Regions from separate parts of the Homo sapiens genome. Here all the other regions are linked to region 2. The links are contacts of gene promoters, found by promoter capture Hi-C in blood cells and fetal thymus (Javierre and others, 2016). All regions are on one chromosome and are shown on one strand. The core of a region is centred on a gene start or on the middle of the fragment in contact, and the rest is flanking DNA. Distances in the headings are between cores, read along the strand shown.

Region 1 (5,188 bases), core at 1,467-3,966, 660 kb before region 2:
CGACTCGGCTCTGAATCCCCAGCGCCTACACAAGCTCTGACACAGCGTATACTCAGTAAACATGGAGTGAATCAGTTCATTCAATGAATGAACGAATGAATGAAACGCCAGAGCCCGCCACAGGGGTCCGCTGCCGCTCCACGCCCGGGCCTCTCACCGGCCAATCAACACTGTGACTCGTACGCCCTGCCCCCTGATGCCACGCCCATCACTCGCCCCTCTGGATTCCCTCCGGCTGCGTGGAAATCCCGGAGCACTGGATTTCCCAGAGGCGCCTCCGGTAGCAGTGCGCATGCTCCAGCGCCGGTAGCTGAGGCATCAATTTCCCGCAGCGCCTAGGGGACGGATTGGAAAGCGATTGGCTTAGGGGACGGAAGCCAAGCTCCACCTGCCTGACACCCGGCTCTTCACGCAGAACCGAAGATTCATTTTGGACAGCCCTTCCCCAGTACCACTCCCACCCCGACGTTGGTCCCAATCGGAACCTATCCTACACAAGGCTGAAAAAAAGAGGGGAGCGACCGGAAGTGACGCACGAGCGCGAGCGGAAAAACAGGGGCCCAGCGCCTGTTGCCGTGGAAACCGAGCCCTCGGCTTGCGTCCCGGGTGCGTCACAGCTCCGGCTGACCACGCCCCGCGCGCGGCCCCGAGGCCCTGAGGCCCAGGGCGGGGACCAAAAGCCGCGCGCTTGTGACGATGTCGCTGCGGGGCACGCTAAGGGGCGGAGAGGAAATTTAGGGCCTGCCTTTTGTACATTCGGTTATTCAGCCCAGAAATATGTATTCAACCCCAGGCGCGTGCCTGGCATTGTGGAAGGCGACACGTGAGGAGAATTGTGACTGGCCCAGATGTCACCCCCCCCCAGCCCAGTAGTCATTCTTCTCTGGAAGTCCTTACCCATCTCACCTGTTCATTCTTCAACCCCCAGTTTCCCGACCTTTTTCCTCAAGCCACGCCCTTCCACGCTTTCTTGTCTTTTCTGTGGTGTTCCTTCAGTCTAGAATATTCTCCACCTAGTACAATCCTGCTCCTCCCCTGACATTCTGCTGAAATTGCACTCTTCAGCCTTCCCAGGTAGCTGTGGGCTGTGACATGTGTCAGAGACTGATGAGTTTTCTTTTTACTTTTCTATATTGTCTCATTTTTTTTCTTTAAGCATACATACATTGATTTTATAATGAAACATAAATCATTTTTAAAGAGATCAGTTATTCTCAAAGAGCTTGTTACTTTCGGGAACACTTTTTGGGGTGTTTATATTTATATGTATTACTATATATGTACTTTATATGTATACTTTTAAATTCACAAAATTGACACGCATTGTAATAAGAATCGTGATTATATCCTTTATCCATAATCACCAATTTTTACATTTTTGCCTCATTTTCACATTCTTCCTCTCTCTCTCTGTGCCAATTATGTCCTTTATAGCTATTTCCCCTCTGTCCAGAATCATACTGTTTCAATTAGTTGTCAAATCTTTTTTTAGTATCCTTTTATCTAGAACAGGGTCTCAGTCTTTCTTCCTCTTTCATGTCTTTGTGAAACTTGCAGCTACCAGGATGAGACAACTCTACTCAGACCCAAGCACACCAAGCCAGGAATGCACAAAGGACGGCTGATGTTTGAGATAAGAACTGTCTCAAGGACTTTCTATAATAACCACACAAGGAATTCCTCATGTACGTCACAAGTCTCATGCGTTTCTCCACCTACGTTTTGCACATGTGCACACATTTATTGATTTAGAGGCAGGGATCTTGCTGTGCTGCCCAGACCGGACTCAAATTCCTGGGCTCAATCGGTCCTCCTGCCTCAGCCTCTAGAGTAGCTGGGACTCCAGGCATGCGCCACCCTGTTATTTCTGTGACCAGGCTTAGCACTAGGCATTCTTTCGGACGACAGCAATTCAAATAAGATGCTCTCCAAAGAACACTTGCCTAGTAGCGGCATCTCCAAAAATAAATTGATGCCGCTCCGGCTTTGAGCCTCCAGAACCAAAGAAACCTGTTTCCAGACAGCTTATGTGAACTTCTACTTTTGGCCAATAAGAGCTCCCACTTACCCCTGCCCTATTCAGGTGCACCTGTGGCTTGCCATAGCCATATAGCCAGGTGCACCATCCTTTTTGCCTGCTCCTGAATAAATTAATTATATTAGGAGACATCTTTCTCTGATGTCTTTTTTAGGTTAGCAACTCTAATATGTTGGAAGAATACAGGCCAGCTACTTTGTAGAATGTTCCTCAATTTGAGTTTGTATGATGCTTTCTCATGATTAGATTCAGGTTATGTATGTTTTGCAAAAATACCTCAGAAGTGATGGCATCCTTGGTGCGGCATCCTTGGTGCATTATATCAGGAGGCAAATGATGTGGGTTTGTCCCATTGTTTGTAATGGTAACATTGGTTGCTTGGTTAAGGTGAAGGGTGCCAAGCTTCTCCACTGTAAAGTTCCTATTTTTTTCTCTGTAATTAATAAGTAATTTGTATGATACTTTGAGATAACAAAGTAGACTGTTCATCAAACTTTCATCAATGAATTTAACATCCAAAGACGCCTCAAGAATGATCATCAAAAGCAGCCTACTAATGACTGTCATTTACCATTTAATACATTTCAAACAGTGCACGTGCTCTGTGACATATTCTGGGAAGGAACATGTTACCTGATACATAATAGGTGATCAATAAATAGTATTTACTGACAGGTTTCCTTCCTTTGTAGATAAATGAAGTTTCTTGTTTCATGGGGTATAATTAGAAGCATTACTTTAATTAGCCATCCTGATTATTCTTACTTTGTACCAGCATCTGCCTCAGTACCTAGTATATATTAGCAATTCATTTTTGAATTAATAATGGAAAATTATGTACACAAACACACATACACACCAAGAAATTATATCAAAAGATTAATTGTGATAATTGAGCAGTTAATGCTTAACCAAGTGTTTTCACCGATGCAGGGCAGTCACTGTTAGAACCAGAAAGCTTTTAAAAGAAAATTATGATAAGTCCAACTTAAGCAAATCAGATTTTACGTTACAAAATAAAGTTCAAGAAAAGAAAGGATTCGAAAGGAAAAAAATTCGAAAAGGATCACGTATGAGAAGCTGCAGTTCCATGTGTGACCACCAGGTGCCGGAACAAGCTAGGTAGCCACACTAGAAAAACAAACGTCCTCATCTGGGCTGAATTTGCATCTAATTGCCTCAAATTGCTTCTGAAACCCAGGATTTTTTCTGTCACTTTGTCAGTGGAGCTTAGGTCAGTGAGTTCTGGGCAAATCGAGAGTAGGCTGAAGCTGGGGGGGAATTCACAAGCGAGATTTAACTAAATTGGCAGTGGCTTATTCTCGAACTGGGTTACTTAAGAATTCAAGTTATTATATATTACATCATATTGTATTATATATTTTATATGTTACAGACAATATCTAGTAATCCAACTGGAAATATATGTTGTATATTACATATCAAGTTATTGTATTATAATTCAAGTTGCCTTATTCTTTATACCTTTTGGTTTTGATGCGTGGTTTTATACCTTTTGGTTTTTGTACGATCTCGGCTCACTGCAACCCCTGACCCCATGGTTCAAGGGATTCTCCTGCCTCAGTCTCCCAAGTAGCTGGGATTACAGGCATCTGCCACCACACCCGGCTAATTTTTGTATTTTGTTTTTTAGTAGAGATGGATTTTCACCATGTTGGTCAGGCTGGTCTCGAACTCCTGACCTCAGGTGATCCACCCGCCCCTGCTTCCCAAAGTGTTGGGATTACAGGCGTAAGTCACTATGCCTGGCCTCTTTATACCTTTTGTATGTCCTAAATACAACAGAGTTAAAGCAAAAGTTTTAAAGGAAAGACTGAGGCTACAGGGATTATGCAAATTTTTTCAAAGAACACAAATCAAATGGAGGGTTTGGGAGTTTTTAAAATCACAATTACCCATACCTTTGCAATTTCTTCTTCTTCTTCTTTTTTTTTTTTTTTTTTTTTTTAGATAGAATCTTGATCTGTCACCCGGAGGGCAGTGGTGCAATCTCAGCTCACTGCAGCCTCAACTCCCAAGTTCAGGCAATCCTCCAACCTCATCACATCAAGTAGCTGGGACTACAAGCACATGCCATCACGTGGCACGGCTAATTTTTGTTTGGTAGAGACAGGGTTTTGCCATGTTGCCCAGGCTAGTCTCAAACTCCTGGGCTCAAGCAATCCTCTGGCCTCAGCCTCCCAAAGTACTGGGATCATAGGCAGGAGTCACCATGCCCAGCCCCTTTCCTTCTTTTTCTGAACCAGGTAAAGAGGATTCAGATCAAACTGAACATCAGTGCGAATAGGACAAATATAAGTGGCTGGAAATATCCTGACAGGATGGAACTAGGAGAGCCCAGCAACATGCCTGTGGTGTTCCCGCCAAGGACGCATGCCCTGCGTCTAATCTTGATGAAACCACAGACAAACCAAAATGGGGACATTCTGCACGACCACTAGCCTGTGACCTTCAAAAGCACTGAGGTCATGAAAATCAAGGAAAGCCTGAGAAACCTTTCCAGGTTAAAGAAGACTAAAGAGACGTGACAACTAAGTATTATGCGTGATTCTGAACTGGATCATTTTGCTACAAAAATATACTATTGTGGCCAGGTGTGGTGGTTCTTGCCTGTAATCCTAGAACTTTGGGAGGCAGAGGCAGGTGGATCACCTTAGGTCAGGAGTTCAAGACCAGCCTGGCCAACATGGCAAAACCCCATCTGTACTAAAAATACAAAAAAAAAAAATTAGCCGGGCATTGTGGCAGGTGCCTATAATCCCAGCTACTTGGGAGACTGAGGCAGGAGAATCACTTGAACCCGGGAGGCAGAGGTTGCAGTGAGCTGAGATTTCACCACTGCACTTCAGCCTGGGCAACAGAGTGAGTGAGACTCTGTCTCAAAAAAAAAAAAAAAAAAAAAAAAATATATATATATATATATATATATATATAACATAGATATGCTAATAGAACAAATATAAGTGGCTGCCTTATATTATATGTTTATATTATATATAATTGGAACAACTGGTGAAACTTGAATAGAGCCTGAGGATCCTGTGGCAGCCACGTATGGATGTTACTGTCCTGACCTTGAGGGCTGTGTTGTGGTTATGCAGAATATCCTTGTTTGTGGAAAAGACACAG
Region 2 (2,700 bases), core at 1-2,500:
CCTCAGCTCACCGATGAGAGCCACCGATGGTAGGCAGCCTCCAGGCCTGGGGGAGAACCAGCAGATCCTCACCATCTTTAGGTTAATAAGTGAAATAAAACCTGTGAGTCAGGCTGCAGTCACGGCCTCACCCGGCTCAGGGAAGGAGGGAGAAATTCCTCAGGGCTCCCTTTTCTGATGTTGCCTTGCTTTGTACTTACTGTTCCTTTTCCTGTTCAGCTGATGACAGATGTTTGACATTAAGCATTTTAGAGTTTTGTTTTTTAGAAAATAGAATCATAGATTATCAGAAGTGGAAGTCCCTTTGGAATAATTTCCCCTGGGTTACACAGATGGCTATGGCAGGGTCAAGGGAGGGGACGGTCAGCGGGGACTGAGCGCAGGCCCCCTCCAGGCTCTGCAGCAATGACCAGGCAGCAAGCCGGCCTCCCGGGCTTGTGGGCTGTCCTCTTTCTCTGGGGTCAGCCTGAGGCTGGAAGAGGCCCGTGGCCCACCGGGCATCAGGCCAAGCCTGGAGCTGACCAGGGAAGGGCCCTGCCAGGCCTTGGGCCTCTGACCCTCAGTCCTGAAGCCTCCCTCTAGCGGCGCCCACCCTGCTCCTTTTCCTGCTGAATTTTACTCAAGTCCGTACTTGAGTATGGCCGGCCCTAGGTTAACCCCGCAGAGTTATTAACCAGGAGTGGCTCTTTCCACCCCCCCTTCCCGCCGGCCCTTCCTGCTGTCCACACCCGGCCAACTCCACTGTCCTGGCAAGGGAGGGCTTCCTGGAGGCGGCAGCGGGCGGCGCGTCCGGCCTTTGTCCCCCCACGCTCTCCAGGGTAGGTCCAGGGACTGCCAGATCAGGGGACCCTTTGCGTCCTGGAGCCTTGGGGGCTGGATGACGTCGCCGGGCACCTGAGGACCCCGCCCATTCCTCCCTCGGTTCCCCAGGGAGCGGGCGGCCGGCGGGGCTGGGCGGGGCCGAAGGAAGGGGCCGCTTGCTCCGACGCCGCGCACGCGCCAGGGCCCGCAGGCGGGTTAGGAAATGACGACCGCGCGCGGGTCTCCAGCAGCACCCGCCCTAGGACCGGCCCCGCCCCCAAGTCCCGGTCCCTAGGGCCGGGCACGCCACTCCAGGCCCCGCCCAGAACCTCCCCGCCCAGTCAAGCCCCGCCCCCAAACTCTGTCTCCCCGCGGTATCCTCTGGGGCTCTCCAGGCCCCGCCTCGGCTCGGGCCCCGCCCCTCCAGGCCCCGCCTCCAGCCCCGCCCCGCAGACGGCGCTCGCAGCGCCCCCGGCCCCCAGGCGGCGCGGCTGGTCCCCAGGGGTCTGCGGGCGACTGCGCGGCTGAGGCGCCCGAGTGCGGTACTGGCGGCGGGCGGCGGGCAGCCATGGCGGAGGCCGCGTCGCCGCACTTGTCGCTGCCCTCGGGGCTGCTGGAGCTCTGCGCGCTGCTGGGCGCCCCCCGGGACAGTCTCCGAAGTCTCGAGCAGGTGAGGGGCGGGGAAACTGAGGCGGACGTGGGCCACGAGTCGGCAGCCGGGACAGCAGTCGGAGAGCGGGCGCCCGGGTGCCCTGTGGGTTGGCGCGGACTTTCCGAGGGCTGAGTCCCGGTCCCCCGGCGGTGACCCCGCGCGCCTGTGGCCGGGGATCGCGCCCGAGCTCAGGCAGGTGCCCTGGAGCAGCGCCCTGCTCCCCTCCCCTCTTCTCTCCTCTCCCCGCCCGGGGCCCTTGGTGTGAGACATGTCTTTTGAGAGCTGCGAACTTGGTCCGCCGGCCGGGAATCTGGGGGTGCCGCCCCTCGGAGAGTCTCTGGGGCCTCTCTCTTCAGTCGCTCCCATCTTGGGCAGGTGCTTCTGAAGGTGGGGTGCACCAGACAACGGGCGGAAGCCGCCGGAGCCTCACGGTCTAGCGGGCCCAGCCCTCGCTGCTGAAATGATTTCATTCTTTATGCTGGGATGTGTTGTCCCCTGAGTAGTGGGTTTTGCACCAGGCACAGAATAACGAGAGAGCAATCTTAGAGTTAGCCGCCGGCCTCGCGTATTCTGCATGAACCCCTTTGCGATGAAGCCTATAGCTATTTTTCTCCCTTGCGGTACCACCCCCACCCCCAACCCTTCCTCCATCTCTGCACCCTCGCAGCCAAAGTGACAACTTCATCTCCCTTCTGCTGGGAAAGCGGCAGTTTTGGAAATTCTCGTTTTCCTTTTTCTTCCCCAGCTTTTCTTAATTCTGTAACGCTGGCTTTCCCTGGAATCCATCTGTGTCTCTGGTTTCCTCCTGGTCCGCCTGTCTGTGACACCGTGACTGGGTCATGTTACCTAGAGATCCCGGCGTCACTGGCCAGCCGTCTGCACAGGTCCGTTCATCTCTTTGCAGACAACAGCATAGAAAGGCAGAGAGGCTTCTGAGTATTTAAATGACGCTGGGCTATCCAGGGAAAATGAAGACTGCAGGGCAGAGGGTGTCACCAGGAAAGGCAGATGTTCCTGCAAGTAACCAGATGAATGTCTGTGAGTGTCCGGGGAGTTTCCCCTGCTGGGCGTCAGTACCAAGCCAGTTTCGACTTCAGTGAAAAAGCATTCTCCTATGGAAATAGTTTCCTCGTTTCCCTCAACTTTTCCTTCCCTTCAACGCCCTGTCATGTCAGTAGATCCCGTTTGACCTCTGTCTCCTCGCAACGTCATCGATTGATTTGTCTCCCTACCTCGAATTTGCCAGA
Region 3 (5,033 bases), core at 1,114-3,613, 530 kb before region 2:
GTTTCAACTAAGAAGCCAACATTTCTCCAGCATCAACATTACTCCAGTACAAGACTTCCAGCACATTCTTGTCTCTTCTCATGTCCTCGCTCTTGGACTTGTCTTCATTGCACAGCTGAGGAGCCAGGAGCTCCATGGGGTGAGGTGACAGCCAGGGCACCTGGGCAGCAGACCACAGGGCTAGGACTGTGATTTCCAGTTTGCCCCTCCACCAACATCAGCCATCAAATCAGCTGACCGCCCTGATGAGGGTCCATGTGACATCTCTTGTACTTCAGAAAGAGTCTTGTTCTCCAAACTGAATCCTTTTTTCACCCAAAACATACAAGAATCTGACCTACCTAACACATGTATGTTCCCTGAAAATATATACACCTATTACGTATCAATAAAAATAGACCAAAACTTTTTTTTTGAGATGGAGTCTCGCTGCCGCCCAGGCTGGAGTGCAGTGGCGTGATCTCAGCTCACTGCAACCTCTGCCTCCTGGGTTCAAGTGATTCTCCCACCTCAGCCTCCCGAGTAGCTGGGATTACAGGCGTGCATCACCATACCCAGCTAATGCTTGTATTTTTAGTAGGGACGGGGTTTCACCATGTTGGCCAGGCTGGTCTCAAACTCCTGACCTCAGGTGATCCACCCGCCTCGGCCTCCCAAAGTGCTGGGATTACAGGTGTGAGCCACTGTGCCCGGCCGACATACACTGATCTGCCACCCTCATGCCTCGTATCTGTGCTAAGCAGCTAGGAAAGTTAAAAAAAAAAAAAAAAAAAAACTTTGTGCCCTTTTACAGTAACTGATTCATCCTAGATACCTAGTACTTTTCTCAATATTTACATAAAATGTTTACTTCCCTTTTTAACATAAGTTCCCATAATTGAAGAAGCAATGGCCACCACCATTGTGTCAGGTACAATGCAGACCCCTTCAGGCAAATCAGCTCCTTTAATCCTTACCACGGGCAAGGCAGGCAGGATCCCCATCCTACAGATGTGGTCCGAGGTGTCTGACAGGCAGAGCTGGGATTCACACACAGCACTCACGGCTACCAGAGCACACAAGCCTTGCCACCAAGCCACGCTGCCTTGAATCGATAACAACTATGCTTAAATCAAACAAAAGGAGCTGGAGGAACCAAATGCGTGACAATCCATCCTCACCAGGTTCACTCAGTTCCATCTGCGAGCACAGGAATACCTGCCCACCAGTGAGGTCTGCCGGTGCCAAGCCCTGCACTAAGGGTTTCCTAAACTCTACCTCAACGCACGATGCCACTCACCCTACACTGCCTGAGCACCTCCTACTCCTGCTCTCAGGGCGCTCGTCTTCAGAAGAGGGCAGGGAGGAAAACCATCACCATCTCCCTGAATGGGCAGGCAAGCCACTGGCAGCACTCGGGTTGGCTGGAGGGGGCTTGCCAGTTAAGGGGACAGGAGAGAAATAACTCAGTCGGAACAATTTTCTGAATATTTGAAGGAAAAAAATAAGGTGAGCTCCCTCTCACATCCTATTACAAAATAAATTTCAAATAGAAACTGTAAATAGATAGTATTTTTAAATGGAACAAAAATATCCACAGAAATATTTTAAAATTTAATAACCTTTTATAGTTTTGGGGTGGGAATGCTCTTTCTGGGATTACAGGCATGAGCCACCGTGCCCGGCCCTCTTTCTTAGAACCAAAAAGAGGTTGCAAAAGGATGATTTTTGGCTGGGTGTGGTGTCTAACACCTGTAATCTCAGCACTTTGGGAGGCCGGGGCAGGTGGATCACTTGAGGCCACAAGTTCGAGACTAGCCTGGGAAACATGGCAAAATCCCATCTGTACAAAAAAAAATAAAAAATAAAAATAAATAGAAAATTAGCCAGTCATGGTGGCATGCCTCTGTAGTCCCAGCTACTCGGGGGTGCTGAGATGGGAGGATCACTTGAGCCTGGGGAGGTCAAGGCTGCAGTGATCCGAGATCACACCTCTGCCCTCCAGCCTGGCTGACACAGTGAGAACCCGTCTCGACGGAAAGAAAAAAACTGTGTGTGTGTGTGTGTGTGTGTGTGTGTATTTCTCTAATTGCATGACAAACTGGGAAATTTTTATGACATCATAAATACACAAACCTAAAGGTATAAACGTACATATACAGAGTTTATATAAACTAATGAAATCAAAAACTCCAACAGGAAATGGTGAGGGATATGACTGGATAGTGCATGAGAAAAAATGGCCACTCCCATCCATGTGGGGAGATTTCAAGCTTGTTTCAGAAGGCTTTTAAAATTACAAGCCTTTTGATCTGGTAACTCAACACCTAGGCATTTGTCCTAAGGAAATACCCAGGCGTCTACACACGAAAAGACTGAGAAGGACTGAAAGGTCCATCAGGAGAAAATGGGTTAAATGAACTGTGAGGACAGTTCAGTGACACTGCTTCTCCATTGATCACACGGCAAGAGCTCCATGTACTTGTAAGTGGGAAAAAGCTTCAGAATGGTGTTTGATGCAATCCCATCTGTCCTATATTATGCACACATACACATTTGGGGTATGAAAGGGAAAACTTAAGGAAGAATTATAAAACAAAATATTTATCGTGATTATTCCTGAGTGGTCAAGCTATAGTCTTTCCACTCTTCTCTATGCTTCTATTTATTCGTTTTATATCTTATTTTATTTATTATTTTATCTTATGAGACAGAATCTCACTCTGTTGCCGAAGCTGAAGTGCAGTGGTGCGATCATAGGGCTCAAGTGATCCTCCTGTCCCAGCCTCCCAAATAGCTGGGACTACAGGCGTGTGCCATCATGCCAGGCTATATATATAATATATATATATATTATATATATATTATTTATATGCCAGGCTATATATATTATATATATAGCCTGGCATATAAAATATATATAATTATATATAAATATTATATTATATAATATGTAAATGTTATATATTATATATAATTGTATATACAATTATATTATATACAATTGTATATACAATTATATTATATACAATTGTATATATTATATTTATATTATATACAATTGTATATATTATATTTATATTATATACAATTGTATATTATATAATATATAATTATATATATTATGTATTATATAATATATATTATGTATATAAATTATATAATATATATTTTATATATAATATATATAAATTATATATATTATATAATATATATATTATATATATATACACACACACACATACACACATATTATAGAGATGGAGCCCTCCTGTGTTGTCCAGACTGGTCTCAAACTCTTGGGTTCAAGCGATCCTCCTGCCTCGGCCTCCCAAAGTGTTGGGATTACAGCGTGAGCCACTGCACATGGCCTGTGCTTCTGTATTTTTTAAGTAGGTTTATTATATTTGTTATTTAAAACTAAATTATTTTTAAAAAATGAACAAACTCTGGGAGAAGGATGAATATTGGATACATCATTCTATTTTTCTCTGATATATCCCTAAGTTAAAGAAAACAGAAGCTGGCTGGGTGTGGTGGCTCATGCCCTGTAATCCCAGCATTTTGGGAGGCCAAGGCGGGTAGACCATCTGAGGTCGGGAGTTCGAGACCAGCCTGACCAACATGGTGAAACCCCGTCTCTACTAAAAATACAAAATTAGCCGGGCACGGTGGCGCATGCCTGTAATTCCAGCTACTCGGGAGGCTGAGATGGGATAATCACCTGAACCCTGGAGGCGGAGGTTGCAGTGAGCTGAGATGGCACCATTGCACTCCAGCCTGGGCAACAAGAGCAAAACTCCATCTCAAACAAACAAAAAAGCAAAATAGAAGCTTAAGATGTAAGCACAGATAGTCATTATGCCATTTAACAGATGCCCAGAGAGATTTAAAAAGTACCCAATGCAAGATCTGCAGTGAGCCCATTTTCCCAGCGTAGTCTCACAGATGAACAAAGTGGCATCTACAGGTGAGGCAGCACGTCCGGGTCACCTGCAGGCTGGGAGGAGTCGGTGGAGCAGCAGGGGAGAGGCAAGTGGCCGGGGTGGGGGACGGGCCCACGTCATCGCATGGCTGCTGTGTCGTCGTGACCGCTGTCTCATCCTGCGAGACACAACCCTGTCCGGGAGAACTCCCCTGGTGCCCACCAGCCCAGGGGGACCTGCCTGAGGGTGCCAGCCAGCCAAGGTGCAGACAGGCACCCTGGCCCCAGAGTGCGTCCCACTGTTCTGCACCGTTGCTGGTGAACATGTTGTTTGAAATAGAAGACTAAAGCCACAAAATGGGTTTTACGTCATGGTTAAAGGGAACTCACAGAGGAACTGTATAGAAGAAAAAAAAACTCAGCAGAAGAGCTGTTTCGTTCATTTATAACCACGCCCCTGCACTGTGTCCCAGCTCTGGCAGGGACGTTCCCTCCCTCTTCACACTTGCTGGGCTGAATCATCTGCAGAGGTGGCAGGAAAACCGCCTCATTTACATACACCCTTTCCGGCAAGCACAGCCAGGGATTCCAATTCCCAGAGCCTCCCAGCCTCTCCAGTGCCAACGCAGCGCAGCACGGATGCAGGGCAGCGTGGGCAGCGGTGGCATAAGGTGCTCACACCCAGCTGGAGTTGAAGTCTGGCTGACATTACTTTCTCTGACTCCGTTTCTGGCAGCAGCCACGGACACCGATGGGGGCTGGGTGGCCCCCCCACCCCCCCCCCCCCGCCCCAGGCCTCCCTGCCTGAGTGAGGGGCCCTTTCCTGGGGGATGGCCTCCTGGCTTCAAGCCTGAATCTTGAGGATGGAAGGAGAAATAAATGAGCATTCAGAAATCTCAGGCTCACTCCTGTCAGCTTCAGCCTCACTCCTGTCAGCTTCAGCCTGATCTACAGGATTAGCTTCTGAGGCCTAATTTTAAGAGAAAAGGAATCAAGAAAAAAAAAAAAGACATCAAAAATGAAAAACTGCCATCTGAGTTCCGTCCCACAGGGTTATAACACATCTTAGCCTTTCTGCCTGTCTTGAAAAGAATAAATGTCTATTTTTATCAGCGAGGCAGCAAAATCC
Region 4 (5,276 bases), core at 1,942-4,441, 620 kb before region 2:
AGCCTGGCCAGCATGGTGAAATTGAAATGTCTTTAAAGTCTTTACTAAAAAATACAAAAAATTAGCTGCGTGTGGTGGTGGGTGCCTATAATCCCAGCTACTCAGGAGGCTGGGGCAGGAGAACCACTTGAACCCAAGAGGCGGAGGTTGCAGTGAGCCGAGATCACGCCATTGCACTCCAGCCTGGGCAACAAGAGCAAGACTCTGTCTCAAAAAAAAAAATAAAAAATAAAAGTCACAGCACAGACTCCAAGGGGTTTAGAGCAAAGATATACCCTCCTCTGAAAATGACTATTCTCCATTTAAGCATTACACAGCTTCAGATTTGCTACCAGGCACTGGTAGAGAACAAATGCCAGACTCTGGCACCCCAAATGAGGGTGTCTTTTGAGCATTATTATTTTGAAGGTCAAGTAAAGTTTATTAGTGAGGGTTCTTCCAGAGAGACAGAATCAACAGGGAAGTGGGCTGGGTGCGGTGGCTCACACCTGTAATCCCAGCACTTTGGGAGGCCGAGGCAGGTGGATCACCTGAGGTCAGGAGTTTGAGACCAGCCTGACCAACATGGAGAAACCCCGTCTCTACTAAAAATACAAAATTAGCCGGGCGTGGTGGCGCACGCCTGTGATCCCAGCTATTCAGGAGGCTGAGGCAGGAGAATTGCTTGAACTCGGGAGGCGGAGGTTGTGGTGAGCCGAGATCGCGCCATTGCACTCCAGCCTGAGCAACAAGAACAAAACTCCATCTCAAAAAAAAAAAAAAAAAAAAAGCAAGCAAGAAAGCCAGAAGGGTTGGGTCTACTCCAGTTCACGGACAGTCACTAACACTTTGAAGGTTCAGAAACTTGGAAAGAACATGTTTGGAGACAGAAAGACAAGAAGGTCTGGAGAGGGGGTGTGGATGAACCTTTTGGATTGGGGAGAGATGAGTGGAGATTTGTATTCCATGTGAATGCTTATCAAAGGACACCTTCTACACAGGAGGCCTTTACTCGGCAAATGGCAGGATCCCCCATTCGTACATGTCCATTGGTCTCTTTTCCAGCAGCTCTAAGGTGCCGCATTAGTGCTTATTCCATCAAGCTTACATATACAGTGGCCATGGCCACATCTGGAGCTATGGGAGCCAAGTCTGGAACTGATGCAGTAAGGGTGTCTGCAAGGGCCTTAGAGATTTCAGTCTTTCTGCTTTGTCCTTCTTGGCATGCTGGTTTTAGGCTTCATGCTTACTGCCTCATGGTTGAAAAATGGCTGCTACTGCTCCAGACTTTGTGACTGCATTAGACAAGAACAAAGGGAAAGGGCAGTTTCCACATTTCTTCCTCAGCCCTCAAGGCTTTGTCTTTTTTTTTTTTTTTTTTTTTTGAGACAGTGTCTTGCTCTGTCGCCCAGGCTGGAGTGCAGTGGTATGATTTCAGCTCACTACAACCTCTACCTCCTGGGTTCAAGCAATTCTCCTTACAGGTGTGAGCCACTGCACCCAAACAGCTTTGTCTTTTTACTGAAGAAAAGATACTCTTTTTTTTTTTTTTTTTTTTGAGACTGAGTCTCACTGTATCGCCCAGGCTGGAGTGCCGTGGCATGATCTTGGTTCACTGCAACCTGTGCCTCTTGGGTTCAAGTGACTCTTGTGCCTCAGCCTCCCGAGTAGCTGAGATTACAGGTACCCACCAGCATGCCCGGCTAATTTTTGTATTTTTAGTAGAAATGGGGTTTCACCATGTTGCCAAGGCTGGTCTCAAACTCCTGACCTCAAGTGATCTGCCCGCCTCGGCCTCCCAAAGTACTGGGATTACAGGTGTGAGCCCCCACGCCTGGCCGAAAATATCTTTTTAGCAGTATTCCTCTTACATGTAATTTGTCAGAGTTGGGTCATTAGCTCACCCTGTGACCAACGACTGGCCAAAGGGCATGATATTACTAGGACTGGTTTATGCCAATTAAGATTTGTATCTTTTTTTTTTTTTTCTTTTGGGATATGGAGTCTCGCTCTGTCACCCAGGCTGGAGTGCAGTGGCGTGATCTCAGCTCACTGCAAGCTCCGCCTCCCGGGTTCACAACATTCTCCTGCCTCAGCCTCCCAAGTAGCTAAGACTACAGGCGCCTGCCACCACGCCCGGCTAATTTTTTTTTTGTATTTTTAGTAGAGACGGGGTTTCACCATGTTAGCCAGGATGGTCTCGATCTCCTGACCTCGTGATCCGCCTGCCTCGGCCTCCCAAAGTGCTGGGATTATAGGTGTGAGCCACTGCACCCGGCCTGTATACTTTTGATTTTATAAGGATGTTGGCTATCTGATCCCTACTGAAATGAATTGGGGTGCGGGGTGGCAGTGAGGTTTAAGGAAAGGAATGCCAAAGTTGCCAACATATAAAATATTGGAGATTTTACTTATAAATCGAAATTGAAGACTGGAACAGCACTCACTGATCCCACATTGCCTCATGGCAAAATTGGCTGCCCTCTTAGGTAAGCCAGAGTCGTCACGTTTGCTACAGACCCCTCCATTCTCTATCACTCGCCTGTCAGCTTCACCCATTTCCATTACTGCTTGGACCCTGACTTAGGATACTGCTTGAGTTTTGTTTTGTTTTTAGAGACAGGGTCTCATTCTGTCACCCAGGCTGGAGTGCAGTGGCACGATCATAGCTTACTGCAGCCTGTAGTCACATGCCACCAGGCCTGGCTAGTTTTTAAATTTTTTGTACAGAAGGGGCCTTACTATGTTGCCCAGGCTCATCTCAAACTCCTGGCCTCAAGCAGTCCTCAGACCTCATCCTCCCAAAGGCTTGGGATTACAGGCATGAGCCACCATGCCTGGTCTCAGAGTGATCTTTTTGAGCATATGTTTCCCCCACTGGATTAGCACAGTGTTTGGCACCTAAAATGTAAACAGGATTTTTTAAAAAGGAAGTTGCCTATTCTAGTAAACTTGGCTAACAGTGCATGAAAGGAGTGGGAGAGGCTTTGTGTAAAAAAGAACCACAGGCAAATCTTAATCTCTGCTACTTATTAATACTAGCTTCCTCAGTCTGATTGTTTCCTTATCTGTAAACTGAAGTCAATAGCATCTGCTCCACAGCATTGCTAAGAAGCTCCTATAAGCTCGGGCATGGAAACCCAGACAAAACGCCGAAGTTCCCTCCTTCTCCAAGAAGGAAGATTGGTTAAGTTGAAATGAATTTGGGTTGGAATTAGGAAGAAAGATTTTAAGAGCTGAGGCCACATCTTATTATGTTTGCACAGCTAGAAGTGCTTAATAAATATTTAATAATGATTATAATGATCATTTAGCTCAATAGAATATAATTATACAAATTGTGAAAATAAAATTATGCCAGGCTGTCATTACAGATAATGGCCTGAATACAGGGATAACAAGGGGCACACCAGAGCCCGTTGCTGTGATGGCTGCCAACAGGCAGGGAGCTCACAGAGCTGCTGAAGGGCTCCATGCGGGGGTTGGGGGGCCTGGCAGCTAGAGAAAGGGGTAGGAGGAAGCAATCTGGGCCAAGGGGAGAGGCTGGTGGGAGCCGCATTGTGCAGAGCCTTGTGGTCCAGCATGGTGGACCCATCCCACAGGATGATGGAGTGGGAAGTCATTGGAGAGTTTTCAACAGGAGAACGGCAAGAGTTGATATATGATTTTAAAATGTTTTTATCATGGTAAAATATAAACATTACGATTAACATATACATTAACATATATATTAACATTATTGTTAATGAATGTTAATTTTATTATTTTGAGACAGGGTCTTGCTCTGTCACCCACACTGGGGTGCAGTGGCACAATCACAGCTCACTGCAGCCTCTACATGTTGTACTCAAGCAATCCTCCCACCTCAGCCTTCAAAGTAGCTAGGACCACAAATATACACCACCACACTGGGCTTTTTGTTTGTTTAAGACAGAGTCTTGCTTTGTTGCCCAGGCTGGAGTGTAGTGGCACAATCTCAGGTCACTGCAACCTCTGTCTCCTGGGTTCAAGCAATTCTCCTGCCTCAGCCTCCTCAGTAGCTGGTATTACAGGCGCCCACTACCATGCCCGGCTAATTTTTTAATGTTTTTAGTAGAGACGGGGTTTCACCATGTTGACCAGGCTGGTCTTGAACTCCTGACCTCAGGTGATCCACCCGCCTCGGCCTTCCAAAGTGCTGGGATTAAAGGCGTGAGCCACCGCGTCCGGCCCTTTTTTTTTTTTTTGAGATGGAGTCTCGCTCTGTCACCCAGGCTGGAGTGCAGTGGTGCAATCTCGGCTCAATGCCACCTAAACCTCCCGGGTTCAAGTGATTCTCCTGCTTCAGCCTCCCGAGTAGCTGGGATTACAGGCGTATGCCACCATACCTGGCTTTTTTTGTATTTTTAGTAGAGATGGGATTTCACCATCATGGCCAGTCTGCTCTCGAACCCCTGACCTCAAATTATCCACCTGCCTCGGCCTCTCAAAGTGCCAGAATTACAAGCGTGTGTCACCACGATTGGCCCTAAAGCAAAAAATTTTTTTTGAGATGGAGTATCCCTCTGTTGCCCAGGCTGGAGTGCAATAGCGTGATCTCGGCTCATCTCAACCTCTGCCTCCTGGATTCAAGCGATTCTCCTGCCTCAGCCTCCCAAATAGCTGGGATTACAGGCTTGTGCCACCACGCCCAGCTAATTTTTATATTTTTAGTAGAGACGGGGTTTCACCATATTGGCTAGGCCGATCTCAAATTCCTGCTCTCATGATCTGCCCACCTTGGCCTCCCAACGTGCTGGGATTATAGGTGTGAGCCACCGCGCCCTGCCTAAAGCAAAATTTTTAAAGGAAAGACTGAGGCTACATCTCTGCTATCTGCCAACCAGATACAGGGATTATGCAAATTTCTTCAAGGAACACAAATCAAGTGGAGGGAGTAGCTGGGATTACATGTTGGCCAGGCTGGTCTCAAACTCCTGACCTCAAGTGATCCGCCTGCCTCAGACTCCCAAAGTGTTGGGATTACAGGCGTGAGCCACGGCGCATGGTCAAGAATTGTTTTCAAGGACATTGTTAGAGCTGGAGGCGCATGACTGAGAAGGAGGCACGTCACTGAGAAGGGCGAGGTGCTATGGAGCAAAAGGGAGGAGACGCTACCTCGAGATCAGGAAGCTGGGACTGCCCCTGGCCTGGAGCCCAGGAGCCCACACTCGCCCCCGAAGGACTCCAGGGCTGCCACTGTTGAGCAGAAACTTAGAGTGAAGCCGCTCAAAGCTCCACATGTGCAGGTGGTGATCCCTATAACCCCACTGCAGTCC

The links. Contacts are between HindIII fragments. The CHiCAGO score rates a contact against its expected background, and 5 or more counts as called.
Region 1: a fragment that was not itself captured here is called in contact with the fragment with the promoter of DENND3 in region 2 in 4 of 17 cell types (M0 macrophages, naive CD4 T cells, naive CD8 T cells and 1 more); the score reaches 5.6 in M0 macrophages.
Region 3: a fragment that was not itself captured here is called in contact with the fragment with the promoter of DENND3 in region 2 in 1 of 17 cell types (total B cells); the score reaches 7.1 in total B cells.
Region 4: a fragment that was not itself captured here is called in contact with the fragment with the promoter of DENND3 in region 2 in 2 of 17 cell types (M1 macrophages and neutrophils); the score reaches 5.5 in M1 macrophages.

What each region holds. Positions count from the first base shown.
Region 1 is chr8:140,464,228-140,469,415 of GRCh38, forward strand. LOC105375782 (a long non-coding RNA gene) reads left to right here and starts at 644. Exons shown (of 2, transcript XR_928707.3): 1 at 644-823; 2 at 1,558-2,712. RefSeq lists an enhancer at 1-1,071 and a silencer at 1,568-1,667. The HindIII fragment of the contact is 556 bases long and covers 2,439-2,994 here.
Region 2 is chr8:141,127,339-141,130,038 of GRCh38, forward strand. DENND3 (DENN domain containing 3) reads left to right here and starts at 1,251. Exons shown (of 23, transcript NM_001352890.3): 1 at 1,251-1,471. The coding sequence starts at 1,370. DENND3-AS1 (DENND3 antisense RNA 1) reads right to left here. Exons shown (of 2, transcript NR_183310.1): 1 at 2,686-2,700. RefSeq lists enhancers at 1-678, 1,512-2,342 and a silencer at 797-1,656. The HindIII fragment of the contact is 7,380 bases long and covers 1-2,700 here.
Region 3 is chr8:140,592,797-140,597,829 of GRCh38, forward strand. All of the region lies in intron 1 of AGO2 (argonaute RISC catalytic component 2), which reads right to left. Among named protein-coding and RNA genes, the nearest start is that of ERICD, 39 kb to the right of the region's middle. RefSeq lists enhancers at 679-1,179, 976-1,025, 4,007-4,346, 4,695-5,033, 4,927-4,976. The HindIII fragment of the contact is 226 bases long and covers 2,251-2,476 here.
Region 4 is chr8:140,502,171-140,507,446 of GRCh38, forward strand. No RefSeq gene overlaps it. Among named protein-coding and RNA genes, the nearest start is that of CHRAC1, 6.5 kb to the right of the region's middle. RefSeq lists a silencer at 1,026-1,226. The HindIII fragment of the contact is 4,223 bases long and covers 1,081-5,276 here.